Regions from separate parts of the Homo sapiens genome. Here regions 2, 3 and 4 are each linked to region 1. Evidence: promoter capture Hi-C in 16 types of primary human blood cells and fetal thymus (Javierre and others, 2016). All regions are on one chromosome and are shown on one strand. Each heading gives the region's core, a stretch centred on a gene start or on the middle of the fragment in contact. The rest is flanking DNA. Distances are from core to core; before and after follow the strand shown.

Evidence for each region. Contacts are between HindIII fragments. The CHiCAGO score rates a contact against its expected background, and 5 or more counts as called.
Region 2: a fragment that was not itself captured here is called in contact with the fragment with the promoter of SEMA5A in region 1 in 2 of 17 cell types (endothelial precursors and M0 macrophages); the score reaches 6.3 in endothelial precursors.
Region 3: a contact is called between a fragment that was not itself captured here and the fragment with the promoter of SEMA5A in region 1, in 2 of 17 cell types (M2 macrophages and M1 macrophages). The highest score is 6.4, in M2 macrophages.
Region 4: a contact is called between a fragment that was not itself captured here and the fragment with the promoter of SEMA5A in region 1, in 1 of 17 cell types (M2 macrophages). The highest score is 5.1, in M2 macrophages.

What each region holds. Positions count from the first base shown.
Region 1 is chr5:9,544,660-9,547,638 of GRCh38, reverse strand. It overlaps SEMA5A (semaphorin 5A), which reads left to right and starts at 1,564. Exons shown (of 23, transcript NM_003966.3): 1 at 1,564-2,055. It overlaps SNHG18 (small nucleolar RNA host gene 18), which reads right to left and starts at 1,439. Exons shown (of 3, transcript NR_045196.2): 1 at 1,109-1,439. RefSeq lists a silencer at 1,441-1,630. The HindIII fragment of the contact is 4,033 bases long and covers 1-2,979 here.
Region 2 is chr5:7,908,503-7,911,481 of GRCh38, reverse strand. LOC124900936 (a long non-coding RNA gene) reads right to left here. Exons shown (of 2, transcript XR_007058683.1): 2 at 783-2,979. Among named protein-coding and RNA genes, the nearest start is that of MTRR, 41 kb to the right of the region's middle. The HindIII fragment of the contact is 852 bases long and covers 1,005-1,856 here.
Region 3 is chr5:7,927,978-7,930,956 of GRCh38, reverse strand. No RefSeq gene overlaps it. Among named protein-coding and RNA genes, the nearest start is that of MTRR, 60 kb to the right of the region's middle. RefSeq lists an enhancer at 1,418-2,617. The HindIII fragment of the contact is 9,391 bases long and covers 1-2,979 here.
Region 4 is chr5:7,944,334-7,947,312 of GRCh38, reverse strand. No RefSeq gene overlaps it. Among named protein-coding and RNA genes, the nearest start is that of MTRR, 77 kb to the right of the region's middle. The HindIII fragment of the contact is 723 bases long and covers 1,228-1,950 here.

The sequences.
Region 1 (2,979 bases), core at 315-2,814:
AAATCCCAGTAAGGCCTGAGTACCCAAGACAGCCAGATCACCCGTGCCAGAGACTGGGCATTTGGGGATGGGCTGGGCTTTCATAGAAACCTTCGGAATTGCTTTCACTTAATTCTTTTATTTTAAAAAAAAGTTCTAGAAAATAAAGACACATCGATAGCAATTTGTATTTCCATTGTCCTCTTAGGTCTGCATGGCTACTGTGCGAGCTATGACACCCTGCAGCCTGCAATAGCTTCTTTGTTTTATGGATGAGCTCAATGGAACCCTTATGGACGCACCGGACCATGCCCAGGACCAGCGAGGCCCATCCATACCCCACCACTGGCTGGAAGGGCGCTGGTGTGAACGTGGGTCCTTGCGGGGGTCCCTACCTCACTGCGGTCAGGAGGGGGCAATTCACACATTTCCTCATGCAGGGGACCTTCAAGCCTCCCTCTGAGGCGCAGACTGAGTAAAAAGGGCCCAGAGATACTGTCCCGCACCCCCATCCAGTGGGAAAGGGCCACTCAAGGCCAGTCAGGACTCCCAACCCAAGTTTTATGCCTTATACTCCTATAACTTTACCATTTGCTCTTTTCGCGAGGCTGACCCCCTCCCTCTCCCCCCCCACCGCCTCCTCCAGAAACTGAAGAACTGCAACAAAGTGTCCAATTATACACGTCTTCAAAGGTACTTTACTTGCTTCCCAATTATCAACTTTTCACCTGAGTACTTAGTAAGGCCCAAGGATCCTGCAAAAGTGCAACAAGGAATAATTGACACAGAATTGGACGAATGACTTTGACCATACGGGACTTCTCTCTTAACGCTCAGCGTGGCTACCTGGGGACGCCTTCTCTGGCCTCCCTGATTCGTCAGATTTGTTCATTTCCTTGACTTAATCCCGCTGAAATCGACCCGAACTAGCCGGGAGTCTCACCCCCAAAGTGCTCCTCCAAGAACCCGCAACGACTGACTCTCTCGTCTTCTTTAAGGAGTTTCTCCCTCAGAACGGATGAGGATGTCACACAGAAAGAACAAAATCACAAAGTTCGAGTTCCGGAGGACCAGACGGCCCCTGCCCCCCATCCCCCGGGCCAGATTTAGCCGAGGGAACCGCACGTACCTGAAGCCGAGGCCGGCAGAGAGGGAGCGCCACGTCTCAGGTCTCGGCCGGCGCCCCCCTCCGGGGTGCAGCCACGTCTGAACCGGGACAGCGGGCGGGGGAGCCGCAGAGGGACCCAGTGAGACGGGGGAGGGAGCCCCCAAAAGTCAGCGCTCGGCCGCACTCGCACTGGGGAGGCTGGAATGGAACTCCTGGGGTGCAGCGGGGCTCCCAGGAGCGAAGGTGGGGGTCCTGTACCGGGAAGGGGCGGGGCCCGGGGAGGGGCTCGGGGAGGTCAGGCGCGGGTGGGGCGCTCGAGTTTCACCCCGGCGGGGAGGAGGAGGAGGAGGAGGCGGCGCGGCGGCGGGGGCGGGGCAGGGGCGGGGCGGGGCGGGGGTGGGCCCAGGCTGTCCCCCGCTCCCCGCCCAGCGCTCTCCGCCCCGCGCTCTCCGCGCCCGCTCGCCCCGCGCCGATCTACTTGCCGGGAAGGCGGCGCCGGTGGCGGCTGCTCTCCCTGAGCCCGCTCCCGAGCGCTGCTTTCCCGCCGCGGGTGGGCTTCGCAGCCTCAGGCCAGCCGCGGCCCTTGGCCCGCTGCAGCCCCGGCCCTCCACCTTCCCCGTGCAGGGGCGGCCCGGCCAGTGTCGCTCATCCCGGGACGCTCCCTTCTCCCACCCAGGACTGCCCCGCGGAGCTGGCTTGGACACCCAACTTTGCCACCTCGAGGGTCGTCTCTGCTGGGCGCGAACCTGCCCACCCACCGGTTGGCCGCGCGCTCGGGGACCGTGCTCGTGGCCCCCAAGCCGGTGCCCCCATTCTGGAACTCAGCGAGTAGGGGGCGGCTCTGGGGAAGTGGCAGGGGGCGGCTGCAGCTGCTGCCTCCACTTCCCTAGCCAGGTGCTGAAGAGGATCCTCGGAGCCGCTCTGGCCCCCAGGCGCTGGATGACTGGCACCAGCGCTCCTCGCACCTGGTGAGCGACCCCCGCCCGATTCCTGCGTGGCCTTGGCAGGAGCCCCTGACCGCGCCGCGCCGCGCCGCGCCGCTGGCCGGGACCCGGGGACTGCAGCGGTCGGCTGGTGGGTGGTGCCGATCTCGGGTGGGATCCATCAGCAGGCACCTGGGCGGGGGTTGCGCGTACAGGATTAGGACGACCGTCAGTCCGGGGGCGCCCACAGTTGAGCTAGTGCACGGGCTGGAAGTTTGTGTACCCGCCTGTGCCGAGGTCTGAGCATGGAGAGGTAAGGAGCCGGAGTGTCGCGGTGGGCGAGACGGGACCCCTGCCCAACACCCGGAAAGGTGCGCACACTGGTCTGTGCCCGCCCCCGGCGCGCCTCCAGGCTCGCACTGCCGCGAGCCGGGGGCAGGGGACACGGAGGTCGGGACTTGGCGGTTCGGGAGCGGCCACCTCGCAGCCCCACCGGCTTGGGCAGGTTTTCCTGCTTTCCTTACAGGGGAACCGGGAGGCAATGGGACTTGGGCTCAACTCCGCCAAGCGCCTTGGTTAATGAAAGACACTAAGGCGGGGGATGCAGAGGCCTGGGGAACCACCAGCCAGGTGCGCTGCAGCTAGGCGAGCCCCTTTCACCAGGCATCCCTCCGCTGCTCCACGGATTTTGCACACCGCGGCTCAGGGTTTCAGACCCCAGGGTTTCGGGCAGATCGGGCTCCAGAGGGAATGGTTTCTCCCAAGATGTGCGTGGGAACGGTCGTGGAGGAGTGATTCCCCCGGCTCGCTCCCCGCGGCGGCCGGTGCCTGGCTTGGAGCGGTCACATCCCTGTTCCCCTGGCTTTGGCGGGAAGCGCGTTCACCTCCTCGCCCTTTGCTTGCTTTGTACCAGGATGCCGCGGCCGGAGTTGGGATTTAACTTTCCTGCGCCTGCGGCGTCCTCGGGAT
Region 2 (2,979 bases), core at 181-2,680, 1.6 Mb after region 1:
CAAGATCTGATTGTTTTAAAAAGGGGAGTTTCCCTGCATAAGCTCTCTTCTCTTGTCTGCCATCATGTGAGAAGTGCCTTTCACCTTCCACCATGATCATGAGGCCTCCCCAGCCATGTGGAAATGTGAGTCCAATAAACCTCTTTCTTTTGTAAATTGTAAATTGCCCAGTCTGGGGTATGCCTTTATCAGCAGCGTGAAAACAGACTGATACAGCGGCTAAGTCCCTCAGCTGTACTGGGTCTTGTGACAGTAGCTCACATATTTTACAGAGAAACTTCTTACAAAGAAATTACAACTTTCTCACTTCCCCTTGAAAATACTGAAGCAAAAGAAAAACTTAATAACCTACAGATATGTTCTGAAACAAAGGCAGAATTTAACTGCTCTTATACACAATGGAGTCATGATCTTTTGTTAAAGTCATCCACCTGGAAAAATAAAAACATGATTTAGACCTTTTCTGAACCTGTTCTTTGCCTGTTAACCTTTAGAAAATGAATTAAAGCTGTGAAAGGTGCTGAGTTAACTGCTACTGAATAAAGGACCATGGAGACAGATGTCTGCTCTGGAACCATGTGATGAGCTGGGCACTTGCCAGGAGAACTAAAAACACATCAAAATGACCTTGTTGTACATTAAATCCTTCTCCAAAATTCAGAGCACACCCATCAACCTGGTGTTTCTCCAGGAACATTTGTAGAAGTGATAGTAGTAATAGTAATAGCAGTAACAGTAGCATAAATACTCATACATTTTAAATACTTATTTTGTGTCAGATATAGCTTTAAACACTTTTATTAAATAAACTAATGAGCCACTATCAAAATTCCTATCCATTTAGGTTAACATGCCTACCCAATTACAAAGGTTGATAAAGATTTAATAATTTCCTCAAAACGAGGACAATGTTACAAAGGCTGTTAACACCAAATCTGCAAATCAAAGTTCTTGGTTGAACGAGAAGGCCAGCAGACTGGAGATACAGGAAACATTATTAAGCTTTACTCCTTTTTTTGTTTACCCAGAGCCCAGCTCAAAACACAGGAAGGAGTGTTTTCAGAGAAAATGATTTAGTGTGGATACTATTTTGAGTAGCATTTGAAGCCTTAAGCCATACAAGTACTATACATACACACCCACACACACACACATATATATATTTGACATTAAATAAGATAAACATTCAGAAATTAAAATGTAATTCATATATTCCGAAGTACCATCGTATATATTCTAATCTGTTGTGATTAAAAAAGATACTGAAGAGTCTACCTTGCAAAAGGATAAAGGTAGTTTAAGATGACAAACAATCAAGAAAATGTACTATTTTTTTAATGGCAGAAATAGTGAAAGGGAAATGTTCCATTTTCTGACTTCTGCATTTTAACGGAGTAGAAAAATATAGAATGTTAATAAAATGGTAAAATTTTTAAATGTTTTTCTATTATTATTTTTAATGAAATTCTTCCTGTAGCATAATAGAAAGCTCATCACTCAGGACACTGTATTATTTATTATGATGATCCCATGTACTTCCTCTTTCAAAAGTTATGCTTTGGTTCAGCAGTGTTATCCATAACACATTTGAAACCCAAGCAGATAATGGTTTATCACATCCCTTATGTGACAAAATTCTTTTCAGTAGTAATTATGTAATGAAACATATATTAATGATGGTGGAAAATAAACACAGTAAAAATGTTCACAGTCATTAAAAAGCACAGTCAGTAAAACACGGTCAGTAAAAATGTTTACAGTCAGTTAAAAAAAAGTTTTACTGAACCTCATCTATGTATATATCATTCCAGTTAAAAATAAAAAGTAAAATAAGTATTACAACTTAAATGAAAGCTTCCCATTCCAAAATGGTGGTGTAGAAACAAGTTGGCCTCATTACCTCCTCCCCACAGAAACCCAGAAACAAATACACAGTGCCAAGATTATCACCAGTAGTATTCCAGGACTCAGATGAGAATGAGACAGTTCCTGGAATCACAGAGAATTGAACAAATTTTAAGCAGACAGTAAGGGAATCAGACTTCCATATTCATAATGCCCCTCCACCCAATCTGCCCATCACAAAGCATGTGGAAAATTTTCCCTCAACATACAGTCTCTACACTGAAAAAAGTGACATCAAGGTGGACAATCAGCTTCCCCACCATTCAGGGCACCCTAGTAGGAGACCTTTCCCTTTTGCCCACAGAAACTATCAGTAGTGTCTGAAGGGAGAAATATCCCTGAGAACAGCCAGAGACAAAGAGGGAAGGTGGAACTACCATCCCTAGGCCTGAAAATTTTGCTCTGTAATTTGGCCAACTAAAACACTAAATCAGAGTGGCTCTTCAGTAGCATGATGCTGTAAGAGGTTTGTTTCACAGGTCCTCTGGGCATGAACCCCCAGCCTTCTCATACTACTGGGATATCCCCTTTGAAACCTTCTGATTTGAGATAGGTGGTACTCTGATTGCTTACTAGAACCAAGGCAAACTTGGTCTTAAGGTGTCATCTACTGCTGAAAAGGGAGCAGCAACCTAGTAGGGGAAAAAAAGAAAAAATATCAAAAGGTAAATTATAAAGGATCTCTAAGAAAACATATCCAATAAAAAACAAAAATGTCAGAGAAGACTAGAATAAATAACTAATTCTTCAATGAAAAGACACAGATGTACATCCAACAGAAACAATAGCAGAGAACCATGATCTCTCCTAAATGGACAAAGCAAGGAACTGGCAACTGACCCTAATGAAATGGTGATATGTGAACTCTCTGACCAAGAATTCAAAATGGCAGTTTTAAGGAAACTCAGTGATATTCAGGATAACACAGAAAAGCAATTCAGAAACTTATCAGAGAAATTTAACTAAATGATTGAAATAATCATAATAAAAAGTCAAACAGAAATCTTGGAACTGAGAAATTCATTTGCCGAAATGGAAAATTCATTAGAGGCTCTCAGCAGATCAGGTCAAGGA
Region 3 (2,979 bases), core at 162-2,661, 1.6 Mb after region 1:
TTTGCAGAGAAAGAGGAGGTGTGGAGTCTATCCAAAAGCTAAACAAGTTGTTGGTTATTTTACAGACTGGCTCTTCAGGACGTCACTATGGACCAGTCAGGTGGGCTTCCAGGCCAACAGCATGGCAGGTAGCTCCCTGGAATGTCATGAAATCCAAAAGTCAGAATAAGGCGAGTTTAGCAGCAATCTGCAGAACACGTCCCCGCTTCATTGTGCCTGCGCCTCTGCTCCGCTGCCTCCACCAGCAATGGCACAGAAACTGCATCAGCAGCAAGGTGGGGTGCCTACTGTAGCTTCTGCAGGTGCAGACCAGGTGGAATTCCTGAGCTTCCAAGATTAAAACACACAAGCTGCTTCCAAGAATTCCATAGTGTTATTCAGACAGAGGAACATGGGAGATCCATGGTGAATATCTGTGTGGTCACATTTATTTTCTTCATTTTATCAAATGCCACGAACCCAGGCACTCCTGGGGCGGGGATGAGGGGAATGGATTCTCAGACTAAATGCCTGTTACCTCGAATTAAACATCTTGAATATTCTCAATCAAAAGTGAGAAGATGTCTTGTTCCTAAAGACTTTTTCAAATAAAAATAAGACTATTCCAAAAGTATAAGACTATTACTTAAGAAAAAAAAAAAAGCTCAAGAAAACAATCCACTTCTTAGAGGAAACTGGCGAAACACAATCATCAACTTCACGCTGTGACCTGCAGTGCTTCCCATGGCTCCCCCAGCTGTGCTCCTGTATTATAGACTGAATTGTCACTCGGCCATATGTAATTCTTGTTGCATTTAAAGGATGTGATTTTTGGCAAGGATGGGCACTCATGGCTTGAAGTGTGCTTGCAATATATCACTCTTCACCTCTGAAGCCTCGGAAACGTGGGGAGGCACTGAGCATATACTTAGGGCAATGGGAAATTATGAGAGATGAAAAATATAAAAGCTCTTGGAATTCACTGGAATTCATCAGAATGATCGAGACCCAGAAAGCAGACATTAGAAGAGGTGTTTCTGTGATGTGGCTTGAAGTATTTGCTTCTTTCCCCTAGAATCGTTTTATTATTAAACTCCAGGAAAAAAATGTTTAAAAAAATACTCAATAAGTAGACTTTGAGAGACTATTACATTACGACTCAACTTCTCTCCAAAAGTCCTGTGATGCTAAAATGTGCTTTTTCATGGTGTTTTACCACAGATTATTCACTTCAATAAGAACTTATCATCTAGTAACTGAATTGGCAAATATTTTTCTATGTCTTCCAGTCTATTTTTCTGCTTTTGCCACAATATTTTCAAGAGAAGCTAAGCATTATTTATTGTAACAGCAAACTCAAGAAACTCAGCAAATGCTTCATTTCCAATGAAGAGACACTTAGAATGTTACCAAGTATTACCCCGTGGAGTTCTGTAGACATATAAGTAGATTTCTGATTATCACAGAAAGGTACATTCATAAGAGTTCCTGAAAGACCTTCTTCAGCTAAATTCCTCATATTCCAAATGTCTGAATTACTATTCATTTGTTCCATGTGCAGTTTGTTTGAAAAGTGACTATTGTACCTATTTCTGGATATAATCTTCCTCATTCATGATGTTAAAGTAAGCTGAAATTTCAAATCGTTACACTCTCACAGGTGGAGGGTAAGTATTGGGATGACTGGAGAATGATGAAGACGGTTGGCATAGGCCAGCCATGTGATGGAGGGGTCTGAGAGATTTACGAATGATCAGGGGACAGGTCAGTGCCACTAGAGTCTGCTCACGTGGCAGCAAGACTTCTGATTAATTCAAAAGGCTCCACATCCCAAGAGAGAACTTAGCACCAGCTAAATGACCATCCAGATTCCTGGAGTGACCACCCAGCACTGATGTTGGAATCACATGTAGCCAAACCCATTTCTTTTGTCCTGGAAGTTCACTTGGAAAGTTCTCAAGACCTCTTTATACAGGAGAATGTGGGAGCTCCTTGTAAAACGAGTTGCTCTTTCTCCTCCTCACCTATGGGAGCCCAGTTCTGAGGGGCCGTGAGGGCTGTGTGAGTAATTCACGATGCTTCACTTCAGGACTTTCACCTGACTCATGTGAGGAGCTGATGGATTCTTGACCCCAGTTCAACCAGAGGCCCCGGGAGTACAGGCAAACTAGTAGGAAGAAACTTTAATTACAAAGGGAGATGACGTGGGTACAACAGAGGGGAAATCACAACACTCCCTAAGGATTTTAAGGGCAATCAACAAATGAATGAAAAAATCATGTTTGGTTTACCTAGTTCAGAAGAATTCCCTTCATCCACAGCTGTGAGAGGGGAGGTTGAACGCAGCCTTTCATGTCTCTTCAGGTTCCCTTGCAGCCTTGTGTGGAGGCACAAGTAAGACTACCAGCTACCCTTTGCTGAGCACGTTCACCCATTTAAACCCTACAGCAAGATGGAAATACACAGCCTTTCATCCGTGTGAAAGATGAAGACACTGAGACACAGGAGGCCAAGTACCTCACCTGGCGCCACTTTGGTAAGAAATGGCTGTAGGGCGTCCTGTTTCAAGCCTCCAGCTATAACCACCACATGAAATCCCTCAAACAAGACCCCAATTTCATGAGCACTTAAGTGTCATGCACTGTTGAAGGCGTTTTATAGAAATTACCTCATGAAATCCTCACAACACTGCTCTAAGTGAAGGTCGTTATCCCCAGCTTATAAAGAAATGGAGGCCTAGAGGGTGTGAGCGTCTGACCCGATTGAGGTCAGCTGAGTCCAAAGCTGATGTCCTTCGCAGCCCTTCTTCCTGCGGACTAGGAGGCTGGCCCTCCACACAAAATTTCTGCTTTAAAAACTAGGGATTTAATTGTCCAATGGGGGAAAAAATACAGAACACGCCACCTCACACCAGAAATGGGAAGCTGCCTTACAGTATGTGAGGCACTTTTATTGCCCTGGAAAGAGATCTGAAGGTGTAATTGATAGCGATACAATAGT
Region 4 (2,979 bases), core at 340-2,839, 1.6 Mb after region 1:
TGTGGAGGCCCATATTTCCATCTCGTATTTTTTCCTTCTTCTCGAAGAATTTGCTTTAACATTTCCTTTGGTACAGTTCTACTAGCAATGAATTCTCTCAGTTTTTGTTTGACCTCAAAATTTTTTAAAGGCTTTATTTTACCCTACTTAAAGACATTTTTACTAAAATTAGACTTCTACTCTGACAGATTATTTTTTCTTTTAGCTGCTTCAAAAATATTTTTTCCATATTCTTCTGCTTTACATAGTTTCTGAAAAGGAGTCTGCTGTAATTTTATCTTTGTTTCTCTGTGTAAAATGTGTTTGTATGTTTGTTTCTCTAGCTGCTGTAAGATATTCTCTTTATCATCACTTTTTAGAAATGTGATTACGATGCCCCTTAGTGTGATTTCTCTCATTTTCTTCTGCTTGGATTTTGTTGACTTTCTGGGATCTGTAGGTTTATCATTTACACTAAATTTGGGGAATTTTTGGCCATTTATTTCTTCAACTATTCCCCTCATTTTATCTCCCCTCTGAGACTGCAATTAAATATAATCACTTCATGCAAGCCATCTATGTTCATTCTTTTTCTAGTTCTGTTCTGTTCATTCTTTTTCTAGTCTCTTCTCTAGATCGAGTTCTTCATTTCATGTAGGATAAATTAAGAACCCCAAGCCCATGCATACTAAGGCAGGAGGTTCTGCCACATGGGAAATAGAACCCGAAAGAGTGAGCAGAGGCTGGGCATGGCAGCTCACACCTGTAATCCCAGCACTTTGGGAGACCAAGGCGGGCGGATCACTTGAGGTCAGGAGTTTGAGACCAGCCTGGCCAACATGGCAAAACCCCATCTCTACTAAAAATATAAAAATGAGCTGGACCTGGTGGCCATGCCTATAGTCCCAGCTACTCAGGAGGCTGAGGAACGAGAATTGCTTGAACCCAGGAGGCGGCAGTTGCAGTGAGCCGAGATGGTGCCACTGCACTCCAGCCTGGGCAACAAAGTGGGACTCCATCTCAAAAAAAAAAAAAAAAAAAAAAAAGACAGTGAACAGATGTTTTTTAGTCCTTATATTCTGGCCTTACATAAACAGGTTTAATTCTAGTCTCTTCCCACCAAACTCAAGAAAATAACTGTCCTTGTAGGAACACTGAATATCTAGTACTCAAGACAATCTTTGCTTCTGATGTCTCCACAGAGGTGTTCCACTCTCATGTTCAACATGCTCAATACCCACTCAAGCTTTGGATGGAAATCCCCACTCATTTTAGGTACCTGTGGTTTTATTTTTCTTTATTGCAATCTCAGCTATGCACTTTTATTTTACATTTACTATAACTTATTCAGCATTTTTCTGTAGTTGGCATGTGTACATTGCTGAGAGGTTGAGGAGGAAGGCATTCCATGTTAGTGCCATCTTCCACAGACTGGAATTCTCATGGCAGCATCTAAGGGAAATGATCCCAGAGACTCGTGGCTGCCATGGTTACTGGAAGGTCCATTGAACAAGGAGCTTGTTTCTATACATGAGTTGCCATGTGCATTTACTGAAGAATGTCATTTTTCTCAGTATTCAAAATAAATGTAGTATCTCTTTATAGCAAAGGTTGAGACCTTGTGTGTCTGAAAAACAGAATATACAGGAAACTCCAAAGTTTCTTATGCCTAGGTGTTGAGTACTCGAAGATCACCCTCCTGAGACTTTCCTTACTCTTCTTAACTGTGTAATTAAATACAACTGTAGTAAATTAAACACAGACAAAAATGCTTTCCTTGACATAATCTCAGTACAGTCTGCCTTAATTCTAATTAGCAAAATCTTCTGTTTTAAGAAACAATTTAGTTTAAAAGGTTTTAGGCATTTTTTATGTTAAAGTGTTGGCTATCACGACTTTTTCTGTAGTTTTTATTTCCTTAGAGCTATTCTTTGAGTGTTACTAGAGTGGGCTGCAGGGAATTGGAAAGCTTGGATGTGGGGCATGCTGACGGCAGTACTTTGGAGATGATATTATAAAAGCAATGTAGGCTGGGTGTGGTGGCTCACACCTGTAATCCCAGCACTTTGGGAGGCTGAGGCAGGTGGATTGCCTGAGGTCAGGAGTTCAAGAACAGCCTGGCCAACATGATGAAACCCTGTCTCTACTAAAAACACAAAAAATTAGCCAGGCATGGTGGCGGGTGCCTGTAATCCCAGCTACTCTGGAGCCTGAGGCAGGAGAATCTCTTGAACCCGGGAGGCGGAGGCTGCAGTGAATCTAGGTCATGCCATTGTACTCCAGCCTGGGCAACAAGAGGGAAACTCTATCCAAAAAAAAAAAAAAAAGCAATATAGACCAGCTTTCTTATGGGAAAGTGTTTCAAAACCCATCTTATCATAAAAAGGTAAACCCAAAGGTAAACCAAAAAGGTAAACCAAAGGTGATTTAGTGGATACAATAATCTTCTCCCAAAGAGACAAAAGTTGGCAACCTTCTTTCTAATGCATCCATTTGAAAGTTAGACATATTCACTTGGTTTTCCACTTTAGGCTGTCAAATTTTTGTAGACATTGGTGTCCAGGTCTGACAAGGTGAACGCAGGATTCAGACGATTCAGACATGCCCTGGATTTTTCCCTCAACCCCTTCCTCTCCGTTGTTTCCAAGCATCTAATCTTTTATTTCTGTTGGCAGAATTATCCTTGCCAAAGTGAGCAAAATTCTATCTCCACCTGAGTTGGGTAATATCTCATTGTTGTTTCCAAATGACTTTGATAGTTTGTCACAAAGGATGACCTTCAAAAGCTCCCCAAATTCTTACACAGCCCAACAGTAGGATTTGTTGTTACCTGGGTCCCAATTTAATTTTACTACACTGGCAAACTGTAGTTCCTGAAATGAAATAACCTGACTAAACTGTAAAGTTAATAGTGATGAGTTTTAAGATAAACAGGACAGTTGGTTATTTTCTAAGCACTGAGCACTGGCCCCAGTATCCTGATCTGCAGGCTTTGCAATT